Regions from separate parts of the Homo sapiens genome. Here all the other regions are linked to region 7. The links are contacts of gene promoters, found by promoter capture Hi-C in blood cells and fetal thymus (Javierre and others, 2016). All regions are on one chromosome and are shown on one strand. The core of a region is centred on a gene start or on the middle of the fragment in contact, and the rest is flanking DNA. Distances in the headings are between cores, read along the strand shown. Region 1 overlaps ITGA6 (integrin subunit alpha 6). Region 2 overlaps PDK1 (pyruvate dehydrogenase kinase 1). Region 3 overlaps PDK1-AS1 (PDK1 and ITGA6 antisense RNA 1). Region 4 overlaps PDK1-AS1 (PDK1 and ITGA6 antisense RNA 1). Region 5 overlaps PDK1 (pyruvate dehydrogenase kinase 1). Region 6 overlaps GORASP2 (golgi reassembly stacking protein 2). Region 7 holds the start of HAT1 (histone acetyltransferase 1).

Region 1 (2,842 bases), core at 79-2,578, 570 kb after region 7:
TGAGTTTTAAGGTCAGAGTGGGAATGAATTACTTAGTCCTATGAGTAAATCAATAAACTTGAATTTAGAGTGATAATACTTGCTGGTTTTACACTTACTTCTGTGCCTTTGGCAGGAGAGAGGCAAATATTGTTGATTATGTGAATCTGGCACTGTTTGGGAGGATATGCTCAAGAGGCTTGTATGGTAATGACAAAGAATTACATAAATTGGAACTATTTTGGATATAATTTTTTTCAGGAGTCTCACAACTCAAGAAAGAAACGGGAAATTACTGAAAAACAGATAGATGATAACAGAAAATTTTCTTTATTTGCTGAAAGAAAATACCAGACTCTTGTAAGTATTTTTCAAGAGCTGTGAATATTTGAGAGGATGAGGGGAAGGATTTCTTCAGAACAATGTCTTTTGATGACCATTCTTCTTTTTCTCTCTAGAACTGTAGCGTGAACGTGAACTGTGTGAACATCAGATGCCCGCTGCGGGGGCTGGACAGCAAGGCGTCTCTTATTTTGCGCTCGAGGTTATGGAACAGCACATTTCTAGAGGTATGACCTTGGCTTGAGGCTGTCCCATGGAAGTAATTTGCCTTTGCCTAGGACACTTTTCACTTCCCTAATGCATTCACTGTCTCCAAACAGGAATATTCCAAACTGAACTACTTGGACATTCTCATGCGAGCCTTCATTGATGTGACTGCTGCTGCCGAAAATATCAGGCTGCCAAATGCAGGCACTCAGGTGAGAGGTTCCCCAGCTTCATTCAGGTTCAGAACATGTCTCTTTTCCCTGTACCCCACACTCATGTCCTGAAGTCATGTGCTTTGGTGCTCATTTCCCTCATAGCCCCATTACGGAGAAAACTGTCTTAAGGTACTGGCACTGCAAGCTGTATTTTAATAGAATCATTGAAAAAAAGAAGTAAATCTAGGGTCATCCAGTTCAGCAGTGCCCATGGTAGGTTTGAGAACTACTGGCTCAATTCAGAGAATGGGTGCACCTCACAGCCCTCTAGAAACCTGTGTCTTCTACCATCTCTAATGCTGCAGCCATTGGTGTAATGCCCCAGTGATGGCCCATCCCTTGGCCAGCTGTAATTATTAAAAAAGATCTCTTCATAGCTGACTCCTGAACTGAACCTTGTAAGTCCCTGGTTATGCCCCTCAAACAAGTCTAAAATAAGTTCTCTCTCTTGGCCATGTAGCAGCCTCTCAAATAATTGAAGGAAATGGTCATGCCTCCTTGGATGTTTCTTATTCTTCTCAGAGCTTATGCACCCAGCTCTTGAGTTATGCGTCACATTGGGCACAGCTGAACTGGCTCCTGGCCTCTCCCTTCCTGGGCAATTTGATTCCCACGTGGACAGAGCAGCTGAGGTGGGGTCTGCTTGGTCCCACTTACCCTGGGGCCTTTACCTCTCAGCATCTCGGCACCACACTTCTGTCAGACCTGCCTAAAATTTGCTTTTTCAAACCATTGCTGAGCAGCATGTTTGAATTTCTAGCAGCTGCTATTTTTGTGTTAGTGTTCTACTGAAACTTCCAGGTGTTTTCATCAGAATTTGTTGTCAAGCTGTGTTTCCAGTATCCTGTCCTTGAGCTATTTGTAAAAATCTAAATGTATGCCTTTAAGTGTATCCTTACATTTTATGTGATTTGCTTTGGGTCCATTGTTTCAGTTTGCAAAGTAATTCTGAATCTTGCTTCATCATTTGCTTTCTCAACTTTCTATCCCTGAAAGTTTTAAAAACTGAGAAGCATGTTCTCTATGTCTTCATCCAGGTAATGACAAATATGTTGAATAGGACTAGGTGTAGAACCTTGTAGTGAACCAATAGTGAGGGGTTCCCTGTGGGAGTCTAGAACCCACAGGGACTTGTATAAAGATCTCGAGGCAGAATGACTGCATGTCATGGTGGGAATAATGAATGGGAATGTTTTGCAAAAGAGACTGGAGAAAGAAATACTGTGAATTACTGTTCTTAAGTTAATCTGCCAGTCTACTTATGGAAATGTTCTGGCTTCAGTCATTTAGCTAGCTGAAAATTCAGGGAGCCTCCCTAATCATTCTGTTTTCTGAAATATAGCAGTCCTTACGATTTATTATCCAAGCAAGAATACATTTTTGTTTTTATTTAGTTTTTTGAGATGGAGTCTTGCTCTGTTACCCAGGCTGGAGTGCAGTGGCGCAAACACAGCTCACTGCAGCCTTGAATGCCTGGGCTCAAGCAATCCTCCTGTCTCACCTCCTGAGTAGCTGGGACCACAGGCATGCCACCACGCCCAGCTAATTTTTCAGTTTTTTTTGTATAGCCAGAGTCTCACCATGTTGCCCAGGCTGGTCTTTAACTCCTGGACTCAAGCAATCCGCCTGCCTCAGCCTCCCAAAATGCTGGGATTATAGGTGTGAGCCACTGCACCCAGCCCCAGGATACATTTGCCTGAGACAAATGCTGTACTGGGCAAGCTGCTGCGATAAGTGGTATCAACCAGCACTGTCCCGGTCTCTCCAGGACATATCAACAGGCATCATAAGGGACTTTCAAATAAACCACACCTTCCCTAAGGATCCTTTCTCTGCATCTATAAAGGCAGCAGGTATAGCTTTCTATAACTGTAAATCAGCAACTCTGAAAATCACTGAGATTTCAGAGCTAGACAGAGAACACTTTAGAGGGAAGGGACTAACATTAATGAAGCCTTAATAAAATGTCTGCAGCTTACTAGATACTTTATACTCTATCATTCAAACTTCAGAAGAATGCCAAGGGTAAACATTGTACTCATTTTACAAACAAGGAAGCAGACTCAGAGAGGGGATATAATTTGAGACCCTCAATTGAA
Region 2 (2,856 bases), core at 187-2,686, 670 kb after region 7:
CTAGGCTGATCTCGAACTCCTGACCTCAGGTGATCCGCTTGCCTTGGCCTCCCAAAGTGCTGGGATTACAGGCATGAGCCACCACACCTGGCCTAGTGCAATGTTTTTATGACAAAATGTAACATTTTGATCTAGCCCAGGAGTGTCCAATCTTATGGCTTCCCTGGGCCACAGTGGAAGAACAGCTGTCTTGTGCCACACATAAAATACACTAATGATAGCTGATGAGCTTAAAAAAGATTGCACAAAAAAAAATCTCATAATGTTTTAAGAAAGTTTACAAATGTGTTGAGCTTCATTCAAAGCCATCCTGGGCCGCATGCAGCCTGTGGGCTGTGGATTGGACAAGCTTGATCTAGCCTGTAGATCAAGAAATTCTGGAATATTTAGAGAAATATGGAGGTGAAAGGTTTTTTGTTCTACCTTAGGGAAAATAGAAGATAAGAAGTCTTAGAGAATCATTAAAATTGTCAACATCAAAGACTTTAGCATTATCAGAATGAGATTTTCTTGTTCAGGGTGTTCTGCATCTTAGGAAATGCCTTTGGCCTGGGATGGAAATACTACTGAAAAATCCTAACTTGAAGAAGATAACTAGAAATGTAGTTTATCTCAGGTTCCAGTGACTTATAGGAAGCTGAAATACAATGGAGAATTACTGGTAATAATATATGGAAAACTGAAATCATGCATGATGCAGAAATCTTGTGCACAGTGACTGAAATTGGAGGCCGGAGAAGACACAGATTCAAACCCAGGGCCAATAAATGTTCACGAAAAAGCTAAGATGCCTTAGACATAGATTTCTATTTATTAATAATGTTATAATGAGTTTTTAAATTTTTATGTATTTATAGAGTCAATATCTTGCTTTGTTGCCAGGCCGGAGTGCAGTGGTACAATCATAATTCACTACAGCCTTGAACCCCTGGGCTTCAAGTGATCCTCCTCTCTCAGTCTCCCAAGTAGTTAGGACTACACCCATGTGCCACCATGTCCAGCTGATATTTTTATTTTTTGTAGAGACAGGATCTTGCTATGTTGCCCAGGCTGGTCTCCAACTCCTGAGCTCAAGCAATCTTCCTGTGTAAGCCTCCCAAAGCACTGGGATTATAGGCATAAGCCACCGTGCCTGGCTTGTGATGAGTTTTTTTTAAAGCACAGTGACTATGCTGAAAAAAACACTATTTCTTCTAGTAAATAATTAAAATAGAGTTCATTAAATTTATGTGCATCTATTAAGATACATATATCGATTTGTATGCTTTTACATTTAACCAACTTCTTCAGTTAGCCAACTCTGATCTGGGTCATGTTTTGTGTAAAATTTCAGTCCAGCAGCTTCCAGGATGGCTGGGGAATTACTGTAAGCAACAAACTCAGTCAACCTGCACATCAGTCAGTGCCATAGATTTCATAAATAACACGTTTCAAATATACATACCATTTAAAAGTATATTTAGGTGGTATAAGGATTAATAAGATACTAATAGAATATTATTTAATTTGTCGTAACCTTTTTGCCATTGTCTATTTTCTCAAATAATGAATTCTAAAAAATGCCAGACTTAATAGGTCTTAGGTTTTTCTTTTTCAGGCTCTGTCAACAGACTCAATAGAAAGACTCCCAGTGTATAACAAAGCTGCCTGGAAGCATTACAACACCAACCACGAGGCTGATGACTGGTGCGTCCCCAGCAGAGAACCCAAAGACATGACGACGTTCCGCAGTGCCTAGACACACTTGGGACATCGGAAAATCCAAATGTGGCTTTTGTATTAAATTTGGAAGGTATGGTGTTCAGAACTATATTATACCAAGTACTTTATTTATCGTTTTCACAAAACTATTTGAGTAGAATAAATGGAAACTGAATTCCATTTGTGCCCGTTAAACCTCCTAAAGGATGAAATTGCACCTATTTTACACTTATATTTTCACAGTTAATTGAACATATTTTTAAACAACTGTAGTTTTGGGCAACTTTTCACTTTGTGGTAGACTTCAGAAGTGTGGAAATCTTCGGGTTTCTATAGGAAACTAGTTTTTTTTTTTTAAGAAATACTTTCATTTATGTTTGCTAGAAACATTTTCTAAATGATAGTGATTAGCTGGTTAGCCATCTTCCTGTTATTTGGAGGAGTTCTGCCATCTTTTATTCGGTAGTGACAGCTGTAATATGGTCTTCATGTTTATCAGTGACTTGACTACAAGTAAAGCAGAAAACAGTTGGCCTGTAATCACAGAACCAGCCACCCTTCGGCGTCTACATGCATTGTCTTAGCTCTGAGGTTAATTTACCATTTTTAAATTTTATTGTAAAGAAGTGTAATGACTAGCTCTCTGTGGATCTATGCCAAAATCATGGGCCATCTTTTCTAAGTGTACTTCTGATTAATGCAAGGGGAAATTTTTATACTGAAAACAAACAAACAAACTAGCAGCTACTAAAATAGAGAAGAAATTGAGGGCAAAGTAATATGTCTCCAAAACTGAACTGATTGCTTGTTGAGATTACCTAGAAAGCTTTTGGAAAAAAATAGAGCTTTTCTGCATCCTACTCCAGATACACTGAATCGGAATCCCTAGGGCTAGAGCCTAGAAATCTCACTTTTTAAAATGCTTCCAAGGTAAGTCTGATGCCTACCCTAGGTTGGGAACCACTCTTTCAAAGTAAACAGTGATGACACAGCATTTGCTAAAGTAACATCTGTAGGTTTTGGTTTCCACCTATTTAAAGTCAGATTTATAGACTCGAGGAGACAGAAACTGAATCCCACACCTGGTGCAATTAGAAGCATAATTAGAAGCAGAAGAACAAAATGCCACGTAACCAAAGCATCAGAGCCATCATT
Region 3 (2,700 bases), core at 81-2,580, 630 kb after region 7:
CTGCACCCAGGTGATTAAAAGCTTTATTGCTCACACAAAGCCTGTTTGGTGGTCTCTTCACACAGATGTGAGTGAAAACCATTGCACCTCTGAAAGGATTAACAAAATAAAATAAGTATTTGGTTATTCTGCCCCTCCTTAGTTGGTTTACCCAATGAGCTTCTCCCTTGTAAACCAAAAATAAAATTCGGCTGGGGCAGTGGCTCAGGCCTGTAATCCCACCACTTTGGGAGGCGAGGTGGGCAAATCATCTGAGGTCAGTAGTTCAAGACCAGCCTGACCAACAGGGTGAAACCCCATCTCTACTAAAATTACAAAAATTAGCCAGGTGTGGTGGCACATACTTGTAATCACAGCTACTCGGGAGGCTGAGGTTGGAGAATCACTTCAACCCAAGAGGCGGAGGTTGCAGTGAGCTGAGATCATGCCACTACACGTCAGCCTGGGCAACAGAGTGAGACTCTGTCTCAAAAAATATATATATTCTAAACCCTCCAACCAACTGAATGGACCCCTCCTTTTGGCCAAGAGCATTCCAAAGTTAACCTGAGAAACTAGTTCAGGCCATGATGGGAAGGCGGGGTCAGACATGTCTCATTATTCTGTCCTCCCTTCTGGAATTTAGGTACAGCTGACCAGCATTAACATTAACATAGAGATTTTACATCTGACAAAACAGACTGTTTGTAGCCTAAGATACCAACATGACAAGGAGCAGGTTCTGCAAGAAACTAAAGATTTTATCCCAAAATATATTTCTTGACATATTTTGAAATGGCCCTGCAAAGCTGTCTCTTGTGGGGAAAATCTACATTCTACAGAGAATCCTCTTCCCTTTCCAAGTACTTTCCCTGATTCAGAAGGGAATTAACTAACTCTGGCACCTTTTTAAAGTCTGATAAGAAACAGTTACAAGGTTGGGCACAGTGGCTCACGTCTGTAATCCCAGAACTTTGGGAGGCCGAGGACTCCCAAACTCTGTAAAATATTTGAAGAGATTTATTCCGAGCCAAATATGAGTGACCATGGCCCCGTGACACAGCTCTCAGGAGGTCCTCAGAACATGTGCCCAAGGTGATTGGGGCACAGTTTGGTTTTATACATTTTAGGGAGGCATGAGACATCAATCAAATACATTTAAGAAATACATTGGTTTAGTCCTGAAAGGTAGGACAATTCAAAGTTGGGGCTTCCAGGCTATAGGTAAATTTAAACATTTTCTGATTTACAATTGGTTGAGTTTATCTAAAGACCTGAGATCACAGAAAGGAAATGTTCAGGTTAAGATAAAGGATTGTGGAGACCAAGGTTCTTTTGAAGTTTTATTGTGGCTGCCCTCAGAGACAACAGATGACAAACGTTTCCTATTCAGATCTTTAAAAGGTGCTAGACTTTAAGTTAATCTTTTTAGGATTGGGAGGGCCTGGAAGTAAAAGATCTAGCTATGTTAATAGAGATTCTTTACTGATGCAAATTTTCCCCCACAAAAGACAGATTTGCAGGGCCATTTCAAGATATGGCAAAAAAACATGTTTTGGGATAAAATATTTTGCTTTTCTTCCTTGTCATGTAATGTTATTCCAGAGTCAGGGTGAAAAGTAAGTCTCGATATATAGGGTTAAATAAAACCCATCTGATGAGAATTTATGGTTTGTAGGGCATGACTCCCCAGAACTCTTAGATAGGAATTTGGGCAAGATAAAAAAATCAGAATTTACTCCTCAGTAGCAACACATGACAGATAGCAGGTCCTGAAATAAACTGAAGTGTTTTACTACAAAACATATTTTTTTGACATATTTTGAACTAGCCCTGCAAAGCTATTTCTTCTGGGGAAAATCTATATTCTGTAGAGGATCCCCTTCCCTTTCCAGGTTTTTCCTTTTAAGGTCTGACACCTTTTTAGGTCTGATAAGAGACATTTACTATCTGTTCTCTCTGAAGCCTGCTATGTGGGACCTTTATCTGTGTAATAAGAATCTTGGTCTCCACAACCCCTTGTCTTAATCCAGACACTCCTTTCAATTGATCCTAGGTCTTGAGATAGTAACTTAACTCTTTCAACCAATTGCCAGTCAGAAAATCTTTGACTCTCCCTATAACCTGGAAGCCCCCTCCTGCCACAAGTTTCCCAATCCCCCTATATTACGTCTTAAAGTTGTCCTGCCTTTTCAGACCAAAGCAGTGTACGCTTTACATGTACTGAGTGATGTCTGCCTGCAACTTCTGTTCCCCTAAAACTGTACACAATCAAGCTATGACCCGACCACCTTGGGCACATGTTTTCAGGACCTCTTGGGACTGTGCCTCAGGCCTTGGTCACTCACATTTGGCTCGGAATAAATCTCTTAAAATATTTTACAGAGTTTGAGTCTTTTTTTTAAATCAACAGTTCAAATAAATTTTTAAAACTTTTAATGTGCCCAAATTTATCTTTTAACATTACCAGTCTCAGTTTGTGAAAGTCTAGAGTTCTCCCTGTCCATGTCTGTAAATTCTTGAGGCTCATAGTCTCATTTATAGTACCCCCCACCCCACCACCACTCAGACTCTTTGTGTGCAAAGTCTATCTCCATTGCCACAAACTCTCATAAAAAAAATTCATCCTTTCCTCCAATTTTCACAAAAGCACAACACATAAAAGCTTCAGTATCCAATAATCTCTCTTTTTTTGCAAACTTTACTGAAGGTTTGGGTTAT
Region 4 (2,764 bases), core at 107-2,606, 590 kb after region 7:
ATTTAAAACCCTAAGATATCAATGATTGACACATAAATTCAATACCTGGCCAGGCGTGGAGGTTCACGCCTGTAATCCCAGGACTTTGGGAGGCCGAGGCAGGCAGATCACATAAGGTCAGGAGTTCGAGACTAGCCTGACTGACATGGTGAAACCCCGTTTCTACTAAATACAAAAAATGAGCCGGGTGTGGTGGTGGCACATGGCTATAATCCCAGCTACTTGGGACGCTGAGGCAGGAGAATCGCTTGAACTGGGAGGCAGAGGTTGCAGTGAGCCAAGACTGCGCCACTGCAGTCCAGCCTGGGCAACAAAAGCAAAACTCTGTCTCAAAAAAAAAAATAAAGTCAATACCTGAACCTTTGTGGGCAGAACTTGCCCCCAGAACAACCCCATTCCCAGAAAATTTAGAGTCATTCTTAAGCAGGTCTACACATTTAAATCACCAAAGAAATACATTTATTAAAATCCCGATGGCTGGACAATCTGCCACACTGACTACATGAGAATCTGAGTGAGACCCAGAAATTAGCGCTGCTTAAAGCTCCCCAGCTGACTCGTAAAGTGCAGCCAGGATTGAGAACTACTTTAGAGATTATTGGATGTTGTGAATATTTATCAAAATAATATGCTCACTGTGTGGAATGCCTCGTTCCTGTTTGTGGTACTTCCACTGCACCAGTAACAGGAGCTGAGAAGCTAGAGGTGCATTTGCTATAGGCAGGGAGGCAGCTGAGCGGTGCATAAGGGCATGTCTCTGGAGCCACGCTGCAGGTGTGAATTAGCTTCTCCTCTTAGAACATAACCTTGGGTGAGTTACGGATATCTCTGTGCCCAGTTTCTTGGCCTGTAAGATAAGTGCTCACTCAGAGGTTCTTTTTTTTTTTTTTTTTTTTTTTTTTTGAGATGGAGTCTGGCTCCATCGAGACGGAGTTTTACTCTTGCTGCCCAGGCTGGAGTGCAATGGCACGATCTTGGCTCAGTGCAACCTCTGCCTTCTGGGTTCAAGCAATTCTCCTGTATCAGCCTCCCAAGCAGCTGGGATTATAGGCGCCCGCCACCATGCATGGCTAATTTTTTGTATTTTTAGTAGAGACGGGGTTTCGCCATGTTGGCCAGGCTGGTGTTGAATTCCTGACCTCAGATGATCCACCCCTGCTTCGGCATGCCAAAGTGCTGGGATTACAGGTGTGAGCCACCATACCCAGCCCAGAGGTTCTTGTAAAGAGAAAATTGGACCATCTGGAAGTGCTTACTAGTTACTTTTATACTTACCCTTGTTTATTATATAGAACCATAAATCTTAAAAAGGGAAGGAAGCATGGAAATCTAGTTCTACTTCCTCGTTTCACAGATGGGGAGACACGGTTTATTTTTATTGTCACGGGAACCTTTTGTCTCCTCATTCTTCAGTGTCTACCAACTTAAGTCTTACTAGTGGGTGTTATAACTACAAAAAAAAAATACGATGAACCTCTTAAAGTCCTTATCAACATAGATCATTCTGAACAACGACAAGAGTGACCTTATTTCTATGTTAAATTCTGTCTCAACCCTTAATACAGTGACCATAATGCAGTCTTCGGTTGGGGTCAGAAAGATGACATGTTAAGATAATCAACAAAGCATCTTGAAATCGCTAGGTATTGAATCTTTGTGTTTTTCTCCCCGCTGACATGGAAGAGTGTGAAAAGAGCAGATTCTCTTTTTGAACCTTTTCTCAGAGTTCTTTACACACCATCGATTTCTTTGGTTTCCTTTAGTGGGAAGGCAAGCCACAGTTTTACTGCTTATTACCTTTACTGCTGTGCAGAAGAGGAAATGCTCACAGAGCTCATCTTGCACCTGAGTTACACCATGTGTGTTAGAACGGAGTTTGTCACTGGAAGAACAAATTTGAAAACTCCTGCCTCCCACATGTCACAATAATGCATGGACTGAAAGACTATGTAAAGGCAAAAAACATACATATACATGCATTCTTCCATAGGAAGATTGGGGGACTGCCTGATGCCAAGGTGTCCTCAAATTGCTGATGGAACTGAAGTTCTGGGGTTCTTACCTGAGGAAGCCACTGGTGGTCAGGAAGTCTCAATTAGAGAAGTTAAGAGCAGTCTTTCTCAAAATTTAACATGCCTAAGACTCACCTGAGGATCTTGTTGATTCAGGTTCTGATTTAAACAGTCTAGGAAACAGCCTGAGAGTCTACATTTCTAACAACCTCCAGGTGTTGCAATACTACTGATCTATGGATTACTCTTTGGGTGTCAAGGGTCTCTAGAGCCAGTCTTTATTCAAGTCCCTATTGTGTCACTTTTTACTGTATGACCTGGGCAAGTTTAAATGCCTGATGCCTTAATTCCTTCACCTGTAAAATGGCATAAGGTATAATGGTATAAGGAATAAGATTATAACCTAGGCTTACACTGTCTTATGTCTTTCTACACAACTTCCAAACCCCTAACATCCTCAAATGTGTGGATAAGGACTGACTGGGGTGCAGTTAAGTCTGTTTATCTAAATATATAGCTTTCACCGTCTTGACAGGATAGCTGACATTTGTTGTAGGCTACTCTTACAGGCCATGCTTTTAAGATTCCTGCCCCGTGAGAAGGAAAATCCCATGACAGTGAATAGCATTACAACGGAATGGGAAACAATGTGCCAGTTCTAGTAGCTGACCCACAGAAGCAGTGACATGTTGATCTGGTTATAAAGACTTATCTAAATCAGTAATGAAACAAACACATTGAACAGGTTCAGG
Region 5 (3,002 bases), core at 322-2,821, 660 kb after region 7:
ATTAATTACACTCTAGGCTTTATTATAATTTCCTTCCTTCTGCTTGCTGTGGTGTTATTTTGCTCCTGTTTTTCTAGTTTCTTAAGGTGGAAGTTTTGGTTATTCATTTGAGACATTTTACAACTATAATTTTACTTTAAGCACTGCTTTGTCTATCTTACAAGTTTTTAATGTTTTGTTTTCATTTTCATTCATCTCAAAGTATTTTCTAGTTTCCTTTTGGATTTTTCCCATTGGTTAATAGGATTGTGTTGTTTAATTGCCACATACTTGTGAATTTCCCATGTGTTCTCTTAATCATTTAAATTTCATTCTGTTGTGATTGGAAACATACTTTGTATGATTTCAAGTATACATCTATTGAGATTTGTTTTACAGCCTAACATAGGGTCTGTCTTGGAGAATGTTCCATGTGTACTTGAGAAAAGTGTGCATTCTGATGCTGTTGAATGTTCTACAGATAGCTATTAGGTTTAGTAGGTTTGCAGTGTTGTACAAGCTTGTCTTTCCTTGTTGATCTTGTAATTGTTATATCCATTGTTGAAAGTGGAGTATTGAAGTCATCTCCAATTATTGTTGAATTGTCTATTTCGCCCTTCAGTTCCATCAGTTTTGCTTCATGTATTTTGGAGCTCTGTTGAGTACATATATGTTTTTAATTATTATCTCTTTTTTGTGTATTAACCTTATATCATTAAAAAATGTACTATTTTGTCTCTTATAACAGTTTTTGTTTAAAAGTATATTTTGTTTGAAGTTAGTGTAACCATCCCAACTCTTTTTGTTTCTGTTTTCATAGTGTAACTTTCCAGACTTTTAGTTTAAACCTCTTTGTGCCTTTCAGTCTAAAATGTGTCTCTTTATAGCATACAGTTAGAATTTAAAACCATTCTGCCAATGTCCACCTTTTAATTGGAATGTTCAGATCAATTAAATTTAATATAATTACTATTAATGTAATTAACAGTAATTTTGGTTTATGTTTGCCGTTTTGTCTTCAATATATGTCATATCATTTTTTATTATTTCTCCATTATCACTGTCTTTTGTTAAAATATTTTGTATTATATCATTTTAATTTCGTTCTTGTTTTTGTTACTATATTTCTTTGAGTTTTTTAAGTAATTATCCTGGGGATTACAATTAACACCTTAATTTATAATCTAGTTCAGATTAATACCAATTTGCTTTCAATAGTATACACTGACTTTTCTCCTAAATAGGCCTTTTCCCCTCCCCACCCATCCTTTGTGCTGTTATTGTCATATAACATACATTTTTGTACATTGTGTGCCTGTCTACAGAGATTTATAATTATTGTTCTATTCAATTGTCTTTTAAATCAGATAGGACACAAAAAGAGTTACAAACAAAAAATATACTCATATTTTCCTTTAGATTTACTTTTGTAATAACTTTTACTGGCACTGTTTATTTCTAAACATGGATTCAATGTTTTGTCTAGTATCCTTTTGTTTCAGCCTGAAGGATTCCCTTTGGTATTTCTTGATAGCCCATGTCTGTCAGTGATCATCTCTCTCAGTTTTTGCTTATCTGGAAATGTCTTAATTTCTCCTTCATTTTTGAAGGATAGTTTTGCTGGTTATAGAATTCTTGTTGATAGTCTTTTTCTTTCAGCACTTTGGAATATGTTATCTCACTGCCTTCCAGCCTCCATGGTTTGGATGAGAAATCAGCTGTTACAATCTTATTGAATATTGCACATATGTGATGAGTCATTTCTCTGTTTCTCAGACTGGATAATTTCAATTGACCTGTCTTCACTCTCACTGATTCTTTTCTTTCACATGCTCAAATATGCTGTTGAACCCCTCTAGTGAAATTTTCATTTCGTTTATTTTTCATTTCATTTATTGTACTTCTCAATTCCAGAATTTCAACTTAGTTCTCTTATATAATATCTATCCTGTTTTTTTCACCTTTGCTAAATGTTGATGCATATCATTTTATTGCCCTATATTTTATTGTTGTATCGTTTAAAATTTTCTATTTTGAGACATCCTTATACTTTAGTTCTTTAGTGTTTGTTTACGGAGTGTGAGTTTACTGACTCAGGTATAGTTTATTGACTGATTTTTCCTTGCCTGTGTATGGGCAATACTTTTTTGTTTTTTTCATATCTTGTTATTTTTATAGAAAACTGGACATTTAAAATAATATATTTTGACAGCTCTGCAGATCAGATACTGCTGTCTCCCCAAGGCTGTCTTTGTTGTTGTTTTGTAATTTTTTTTTTTTTTGGAGTTAATTCTTTTAAGTTTGAATTCTTTGTTGTGTGTGGCTTCTGAAGTCTCTGCTCATTTAGCTTAGTGGTCAGCTAATGACTGGACTGAGATTTCCTCAAATACCTGGAATCAGTAAGTTTCCCAGTCTTTGCCAAGGGACTCTGTGTGTGTATAGAAGTGTTCAGGAGAATATCTTCAACACTCAGCCAGGCAGTTAACAACTGTGCCTTAACCTTTAGGTCCTGCTCGCATAGAGCAATTAGAGGTGAGAGCTTAGGGCCTTCTCAGTGTCTTTCCTGAGCATGACCCTGGGCATGAGTATGGCCTTCCAGATTCCCAGGAGATAGCTGAGGTTTTCAAAGCCCCTATGGCTATCTCATTCCCTAGACCTTCCTGTTAAGCTTTTTGGTTAGCCTTATTGTTTGCCCTAGCTGTTGTCCAGTTTCTTCTGCAGCCCTCAAATTAATCAGTTACTTCTAATTGTTTTTGACAGATGTTTCCAGGGATGGGGGTGGGGTGCAAGACTTTTGTACTGGGGAGCTCAGAGTCAGGTCAAATAAATACAGTCTTCCCAGCAGCTACCAGGCTGCTGGTTTCACTCTGATTGCATATTGATTGGAGGGAGGGGGAGCAGATGGGAGCAAGTTAAAATGCTTACTGTTCTTATACGGATTCAGTTGTTTTACTTGAATAAATGTTCCCCAGATTGCTGCATGCCTTTAGTTAATTTCCAGAATTCTGTCAAAGTAGATTCTA
Region 6 (2,893 bases), core at 78-2,577, 990 kb before region 7:
CTCCTTTTTTTCCTGGGCCTAACATCGCCCCTTAGCCATGTTTCACAAAGATTTTGAATAATATGACGTATTCAAGGACTATATGGCCAAAAGTTATCTTAAGAGGTTAACATTACAACCAAAATAGCCAACAGCTGAGAAATTGTTAAACAAATCAGGGCCTAAACACAGATAGAATGCTACACATTCACTCAAAATTGTGTTTCAGACACCCTGTGTGTGTGCAGGTACATTTGAGTGCTTAGGAAAATAAAGCTGAAAGGTAATAAACAAGGTTGTCTAAAAAATTATTAGTGGATGGTGACTTTTTTTTTAACTTTAATATATTTTCTAGGATTTCTGAAGTGATCATTAAATACTTGTATAGTCACCCAAAGTGTAGATATGCAAAATTACTTTTAAAAAAGAAGTGGACTCCTAGTGGAGGATTTAAAAATTTGTGTAGAAGTCTTTTTTTAAAAAATAGCATTTCAGATTTCCTTATATAGTGGGTCAGATTTGTGCTCACTATGAATGGCACTTTTATTTTGGTCCTCCAATCCTAATGTAAGGCAGGAAAAATGTTAGGGCTTCTCAGTTTTTGAAGTTATTGTAAGTTACCCCCTACATGTGAACTATGTTTAATATCAAATTTTTGCCTATATTTTCCATTAATTATCCAGTGAACCCAACAAGACCATTTTCAAAATTAAATTAAACCAAAATATCCAACAGGTGAGAAATTGTTAAACAAATCAGGGCCTAACCACAGATAGAATGCTATACATTCGCTCAAAATTGTGTTTCAAACACCCTGTGTATGTGCAGGTACATTTGAGTGCTCAGGAAAATAAAGCTGAAAGGTAATAAACAAGGTTCTCTAAAAAATTATTAGTGACATAGTTCACAAAATTAAATTTTTGGAGTGACCTCACAGATGCCTATTATAGGATCTGCTTTTAAATTAAAATATTCATATTCTGTTCCACACTTAAAAGAGATGGGGAATAGCTGAGGGCATACTTTCTGGAGCAAGTATTCAGTGTGGAGACTGTGTGGAGTGTGGAGACATGGAAAATGGCATTTTCATTCTTTCTCATGCTTGCTTCTGGGAGAGATTTTGAGGTGATGGATATTTTGAAGGAAGGGTCATTGACATGAAATGTGTCACGAGTGTAATAACAGGTTTTTATCTTCTGAGCTATTTGCTGCAGACTGGGTAACATTTAGGTGTTCTCAGAGAAGCAAGTGACTGCAAGTGGAATTACTTCTATAGAAAATGCAATGCCTACACCATATCTTCTATCATATGGAACTGCTCTTTTTATATATTTTTTTCTATTTTGTCAGAGATGAGGTCTCCCAAAGGTACTGCTCTTTTTAAATGGTGCCTAACTAACCTATCTGCAATCCTGTTGTGATGGGATTTCAATTTAGTACTTATTTTGAAAAAATTAATTTCTGATATTCAATAGTCATTGTCTTCTTTATTCTTCTAACAGTCTTTCTCAAACTTTTGAAACTCATACCCTGTTTTTTTTTTTGTTGTTGTTGTTGTTGTTTTGTTTTGTTTTTTTTGAGATGGAGTTTCGCTTTTGTTGCCCAGGCTGGAGTACAATGGCGCATCTCGGCTCACTGCAACCTCCCGGGTTCTCCTGCCTCAGCCTCCCAAGTAGCTGGGATTACAGGCACCTGTCATCACGCCCAGCTAATTTTTGTATTTTTAGTAGAGGTGGGGTTTCACCATGTTGGCCAGGCTGTTCTCGAACTCCTGACCTCAAGTGATCCACCCGCCTCCACCTCCGACAAGTGCTGGGATTACAGGTGTTAGCCACCACGCCCTACCTCATCCCCTAACACAGAAATCTCACTCTGGCTCCCTTCTCACTCATTCTGGAAACAATGGGTAAAAAGAAAACAGTAGGGTTATTTGGTATTGTTTTCTATATATAAAGTTATAATTGTGAAACCTGAAGAGTCTGACCCTGCCCCCAGAATTGATCTCTCCTTTTTTTTCTTTTTTGTTTGTTTGTTTGTTTGTGAGATGGAGTCTCGCTCTGTTGCCACGGCTGGAGTGCAGTTGTGCAATCTCAGCTCACTGCAACCTCCGCCTCCGAAGTCCAAGCAATTCTCCTGCCTCAGCCTCCAGAGTGGCTGGGATTACAGGTTCCTGCCACCGTGCCCAGCTAATTTTTGTATTTTTAGTAGAGATGGGCTTTCACCCTATTGGTCAAGCTGGTCTCGAACTGCTGACCTCAGCTGATCCACAGGCCTCGGCCTCCCAAAGTGCTGGTATTACAGGCGTGAGCCACTGTGCCAGGCCCAAAATTGATCTTTTCTAATAAAAGGCCCAGAAGTTGTTTAATAAACATTCTTTTAAATTGCTTTCAAATGTAGGAATCAGGATGTCTCAGTTTATTGAAGCCATGGAATACAATGTATATAAATCTTGGGATACTTTTAGGAATTATATCATTGAACATAAACTTTTTCTAATATTAATAGGCCTTGAACAAATTAGTAGTTTCATGTTGATTATATACACTTTTTTTTTCTTTGAGATGGAGTCTTGCTCTATCACCCAGGCTGGAGTGCAGTGGCGCGATCTCAGCTCACTGCAACTTCCGCCACTCCAGTTCAAGTGATTCTCCTGCCTCAGCCTCCCAAGTGGCTGGGATTATAGGCACCCACCACCACACCCAACTAATTTTTGTATTTTTAGTAGAGACAGGGTTTCACCTTATTGGCCAGGTTGGTCTAGAACTTCAGACCTCAAGTCATCTGCCCACCTCAGCCTCCCAAAGTGTAGGGATTTCAGGTGGGAGCCACTGCACCCAGCACCCCCAACGCCCCACCTCTTTTTTTTTTTTTTTTTTCTTTTTTTGACACAGGGTCTCACTCTAGGCTGGAATGA
Region 7 (2,700 bases), core at 140-2,639:
CTCAGTACCTTTTCTGATCTTTATCTTCAGGAAAGCCATCTCTATATAGTTGAGCAAATAAATACTGGGCTGAGTATCTGATGAACTGCACTCTGCATAGGTTGCATACTGAGAATGAACTTGGGCAGTTTATCTTTTCTGGGCTTTGGTTTCCTCATCTCTAAAATGAGAGGGCGTGTTAGTTCTAGACCATCATCCCAAGGGTCCATTTTAGCTTTAGCGTGCATCACTGTAAAACCTGTTAACAAATATTTGTTGAGATAAGGAATTCTGGTGTATAGCCAACATTGTGGGAATATTTGTGGATACCTAAATAGTGGTTTATCCTCTGGGGAAAGCAGTTCCTACAGCTACTAAATACTAACAAGGCCTATGGCTAAAATCAGGTAGCACCTTGTGATGTAATTCAAACCACTAGGACATGTGGCATGCAAGACTACATCAGGCTACTTGAGGTATTTATTAGGTAACAATTTTTTTTTTTTTTTGAGACGGAGTCTCACTCTGTTGCCCAGGCTGGAGTGTAGTGGCGCAATCTCGGCTCACTGCAACTTTCGCCTCCAGGGTTCAAGCGATTCTCCTGCCTCAGCCTCCCGAGTAGCTGGGATTACAGGCGCCTGCCACCATGCCTGGCTAATTTTTGTATTTTTAGTAGAGACGGGGTTTCACTATGTTGGCTACACTGGTCTCGAACTCCTGAGCTCAGGCAATCTACCCGCCTCGGCCTCCCAAAGTGCTGGGATTATAGGCGTGAGCCACCGCGCCCGGCCTAGGTAACGATTTTTGCGCGCTAAACGGTTCTTAGTAACCTGCAGAGTGAAAGCAGAGTACCTAAATATCATACTGTATACGTTAAAAACAGGGGAGAAAGGAAAAAAGGTGTTAAAGTTTACAGCAAAATGAGAAACAAATGAGGAAAACAAGTGAAAGCTTCTCCCGCAACTGAAACTCAACCTCTACATTTTACCTAGGTAAAATGGTAAAATTGCCCACAGGGCTCAGGTGTTTGGATGCACTGTCCAGGCCAAGAGGAAAGATTTTCAGCCAGTCTCCAAAACATCTCAGGGACGGGTATGGAAAACAGGCGTAAAGTGTCTGTATTGATCAAATCAACCCCAGAGAAACTTTCCTAGGGCCAGAGAGCATCTCAACCGCGAAAGTCCGTTTGCGGCCTCCTTCTCCACTTCAGGCCTGCAAAGCGGCTGACGGCATTCGCAGTGGCTAGGCAACGGCCCGCGCAGACTTCTCGGCGTTAGCCCCGCCTCTTGAGGCGCTTCCGCCGCCGGGCTCCTGGACACGCCTCCTTTAATTGGCTAACGTCACGCTGGGAGTGGGCGGGGAAAATATGTCAGACTGTGCGGTCACTTCCGGCCCGGGAGCGCGCGGGTTGATTCGTCCTTCCTCAGCCGCGGGTGATCGTAGCTCGGAAATGGCGGGTAAGTTACCGGGAAAAGTTTACCAAGGGGAGGAGGCGGCCAGATCGGGGATAGAACGCCGAGACGGTGGTGACAATGCCCGCCTAGAACTTTCGGGCTGTAGCCTGGGTTCCAGAAGGCCTGCTTGGGACCGGAAGCGCGGAACTCTCAGCCCAGCAGCTCCTTGTTGGCGGCGGTCCGCGCCCCCGCCCCCAACTGCTTGGGGTTCTGCGCCTTCTGCCAGCAATCCGGCCCCTACCGAGGGCCGAAGACGCCAGGGAAAAGCGTCATGATTTGGGCTCGTAAAATGCCACATGCCTTGGGGCCTGTTTCTCTTCCCATTCCTTTTGTCCACTGCTGCTTGCTTCAGCTCTTGTACATCTGGTCCTGTTCCCGCCAGCTGATTTTAATGCTCAGATCCTCCTCCTCTTCCAGGTCTCCGTCTACCTTCCACTACAGTCAACTTCTGAGCTAGCGCATTGCTGCCTTGCCCTGCTCTGGCGCTCCCACTTGGATCTCGACTGACTTCGTAGTCGTCTCGTTAATCTGTCACACTTTAGTATTCCGAGGATCGTATTTAGATGCCCTTTGAGAAAGACTTTGTTCCTGAACTGCTCCCTTCTCTTTTAGGGTTGGACTACTATAATACAATTCTCTTGTGTACATTCTAGAGACCCTTCAAGTTACAACATTTAATAATGTATAATTGCTATTACTTTGTACGTGTATTAAGGCTGTTTTGGTGTGATTATTTTTTTCGATTACTTATCTTTTGAAGTTATGGACAGTTTCTTTTTCCTGAGACAGGGTCTCTCTGTCGCCCAGGCTGGAGTGCAGCGATCATAGTTCCGGGCAGCTTCCAACTCCTCGTAGGCTCAAGCGATCCTCTTGCCTCAGCCTCCCGAGTAGCTAGGACTACAGGCATGCGCCACAACATTCGGCTAAAAAAAAACAATTTTTTTTAACCTTTTAGAGACAGAGTCTGGCTGTATTGCCTCAGGCCGGTCTGGAACTCTTGGCCTCAAGCCATCCTCTCGCCTCAGCTTCCCAAAGTGTTGGAATGACAGGATTGAGCCACTTCGCTGGCCTTTGTTGCTTTTATCATCTCTTTACAGGGCATTCCTCATAGTCTCTCTACATTAACCATTCCATTTTTATGAATATGTGGGATAGACAAGCTGTTGTGTGAGCTCTACAGATGTTTAAAGAAGGACTTTTCTACCAGATGGAGATTGTAGGATCTTGAAGTACCACAGAAGAGGGAGGACGTACTCTAAGAATTACA

Evidence for each region. The method cuts DNA at HindIII sites, captures the fragments that hold promoters and counts their contacts. A CHiCAGO score of 5 or more calls a contact.
Region 1: a contact is called between a fragment that was not itself captured here and the fragment with the promoter of HAT1 in region 7, in 6 of 17 cell types (naive CD4 T cells, non-activated CD4 T cells, activated CD4 T cells and 3 more). The highest score is 10.6, in naive CD4 T cells.
Region 2: a contact is called between a fragment that was not itself captured here and the fragment with the promoter of HAT1 in region 7, in 1 of 17 cell types (total CD4 T cells). The highest score is 5.7, in total CD4 T cells.
Region 3: a contact is called between a fragment that was not itself captured here and the fragment with the promoter of HAT1 in region 7, in 4 of 17 cell types (naive CD8 T cells, total CD8 T cells, non-activated CD4 T cells and 1 more). The highest score is 7.1, in naive CD8 T cells.
Region 4: a contact is called between a fragment that was not itself captured here and the fragment with the promoter of HAT1 in region 7, in 4 of 17 cell types (neutrophils, naive CD8 T cells, naive CD4 T cells and 1 more). The highest score is 9.1, in neutrophils.
Region 5: a fragment that was not itself captured here is called in contact with the fragment with the promoter of HAT1 in region 7 in 6 of 17 cell types (total CD4 T cells, naive CD4 T cells, neutrophils and 3 more); the score reaches 10.4 in total CD4 T cells.
Region 6: a fragment that was not itself captured here is called in contact with the fragment with the promoter of HAT1 in region 7 in 2 of 17 cell types (neutrophils and total B cells); the score reaches 8.1 in neutrophils.

Annotation. Positions count from the first base shown.
Region 1 is chr2:172,490,784-172,493,625 of GRCh38, forward strand. ITGA6 (integrin subunit alpha 6) reads left to right here. Exons shown (of 26, transcript NM_000210.4): 21 at 241-339; 22 at 438-548; 23 at 642-740. All of the region lies in intron 2 of PDK1-AS1 (PDK1 and ITGA6 antisense RNA 1), which reads right to left. Among named protein-coding and RNA genes, the nearest start is that of ITGA6-AS1, 26 kb to the left of the region's middle. The HindIII fragment of the contact is 4,096 bases long and covers 1-2,842 here.
Region 2 is chr2:172,594,232-172,597,087 of GRCh38, forward strand. It overlaps PDK1 (pyruvate dehydrogenase kinase 1), which reads left to right. Exons shown (of 11, transcript NM_002610.5): 11 at 1,598-2,856. The coding sequence ends at 1,738. Among named protein-coding and RNA genes, the nearest start is that of PDK1-AS1, 39 kb to the left of the region's middle. The HindIII fragment of the contact is 2,178 bases long and covers 348-2,525 here.
Region 3 is chr2:172,548,684-172,551,383 of GRCh38, forward strand. All of the region lies in intron 1 of PDK1-AS1 (PDK1 and ITGA6 antisense RNA 1), which reads right to left. Among named protein-coding and RNA genes, the nearest start is that of PDK1, 6.1 kb to the right of the region's middle. RefSeq lists enhancers at 148-890, 891-1,632. The HindIII fragment of the contact is 2,623 bases long and covers 20-2,642 here.
Region 4 is chr2:172,508,967-172,511,730 of GRCh38, forward strand. The region is part of intron 1 of PDK1-AS1 (PDK1 and ITGA6 antisense RNA 1); the gene reads right to left. Among named protein-coding and RNA genes, the nearest start is that of ITGA6-AS1, 44 kb to the left of the region's middle. The HindIII fragment of the contact is 2,843 bases long and covers 1-2,764 here.
Region 5 is chr2:172,576,491-172,579,492 of GRCh38, forward strand. The region is part of intron 8 of PDK1 (pyruvate dehydrogenase kinase 1); the gene reads left to right. Among named protein-coding and RNA genes, the nearest start is that of PDK1-AS1, 22 kb to the left of the region's middle. The HindIII fragment of the contact is 2,148 bases long and covers 498-2,645 here.
Region 6 is chr2:170,932,736-170,935,628 of GRCh38, forward strand. All of the region lies in intron 1 of GORASP2 (golgi reassembly stacking protein 2), which reads left to right. Among named protein-coding and RNA genes, the nearest start is that of GORASP2, 4.9 kb to the left of the region's middle. The HindIII fragment of the contact is 5,206 bases long and covers 1-2,893 here.
Region 7 is chr2:171,921,072-171,923,771 of GRCh38, forward strand. It overlaps HAT1 (histone acetyltransferase 1), which reads left to right and starts at 1,390. Exons shown (of 11, transcript NM_003642.4): 1 at 1,390-1,436. The coding sequence starts at 1,430. LOC105373740 (a long non-coding RNA gene) reads right to left here and starts at 1,318. Exons shown (of 3, transcript XR_923579.2): 1 at 968-1,318; 2 at 9-160. RefSeq lists enhancers at 826-1,474, 1,615-1,664. The HindIII fragment of the contact is 14,743 bases long and covers 929-2,700 here.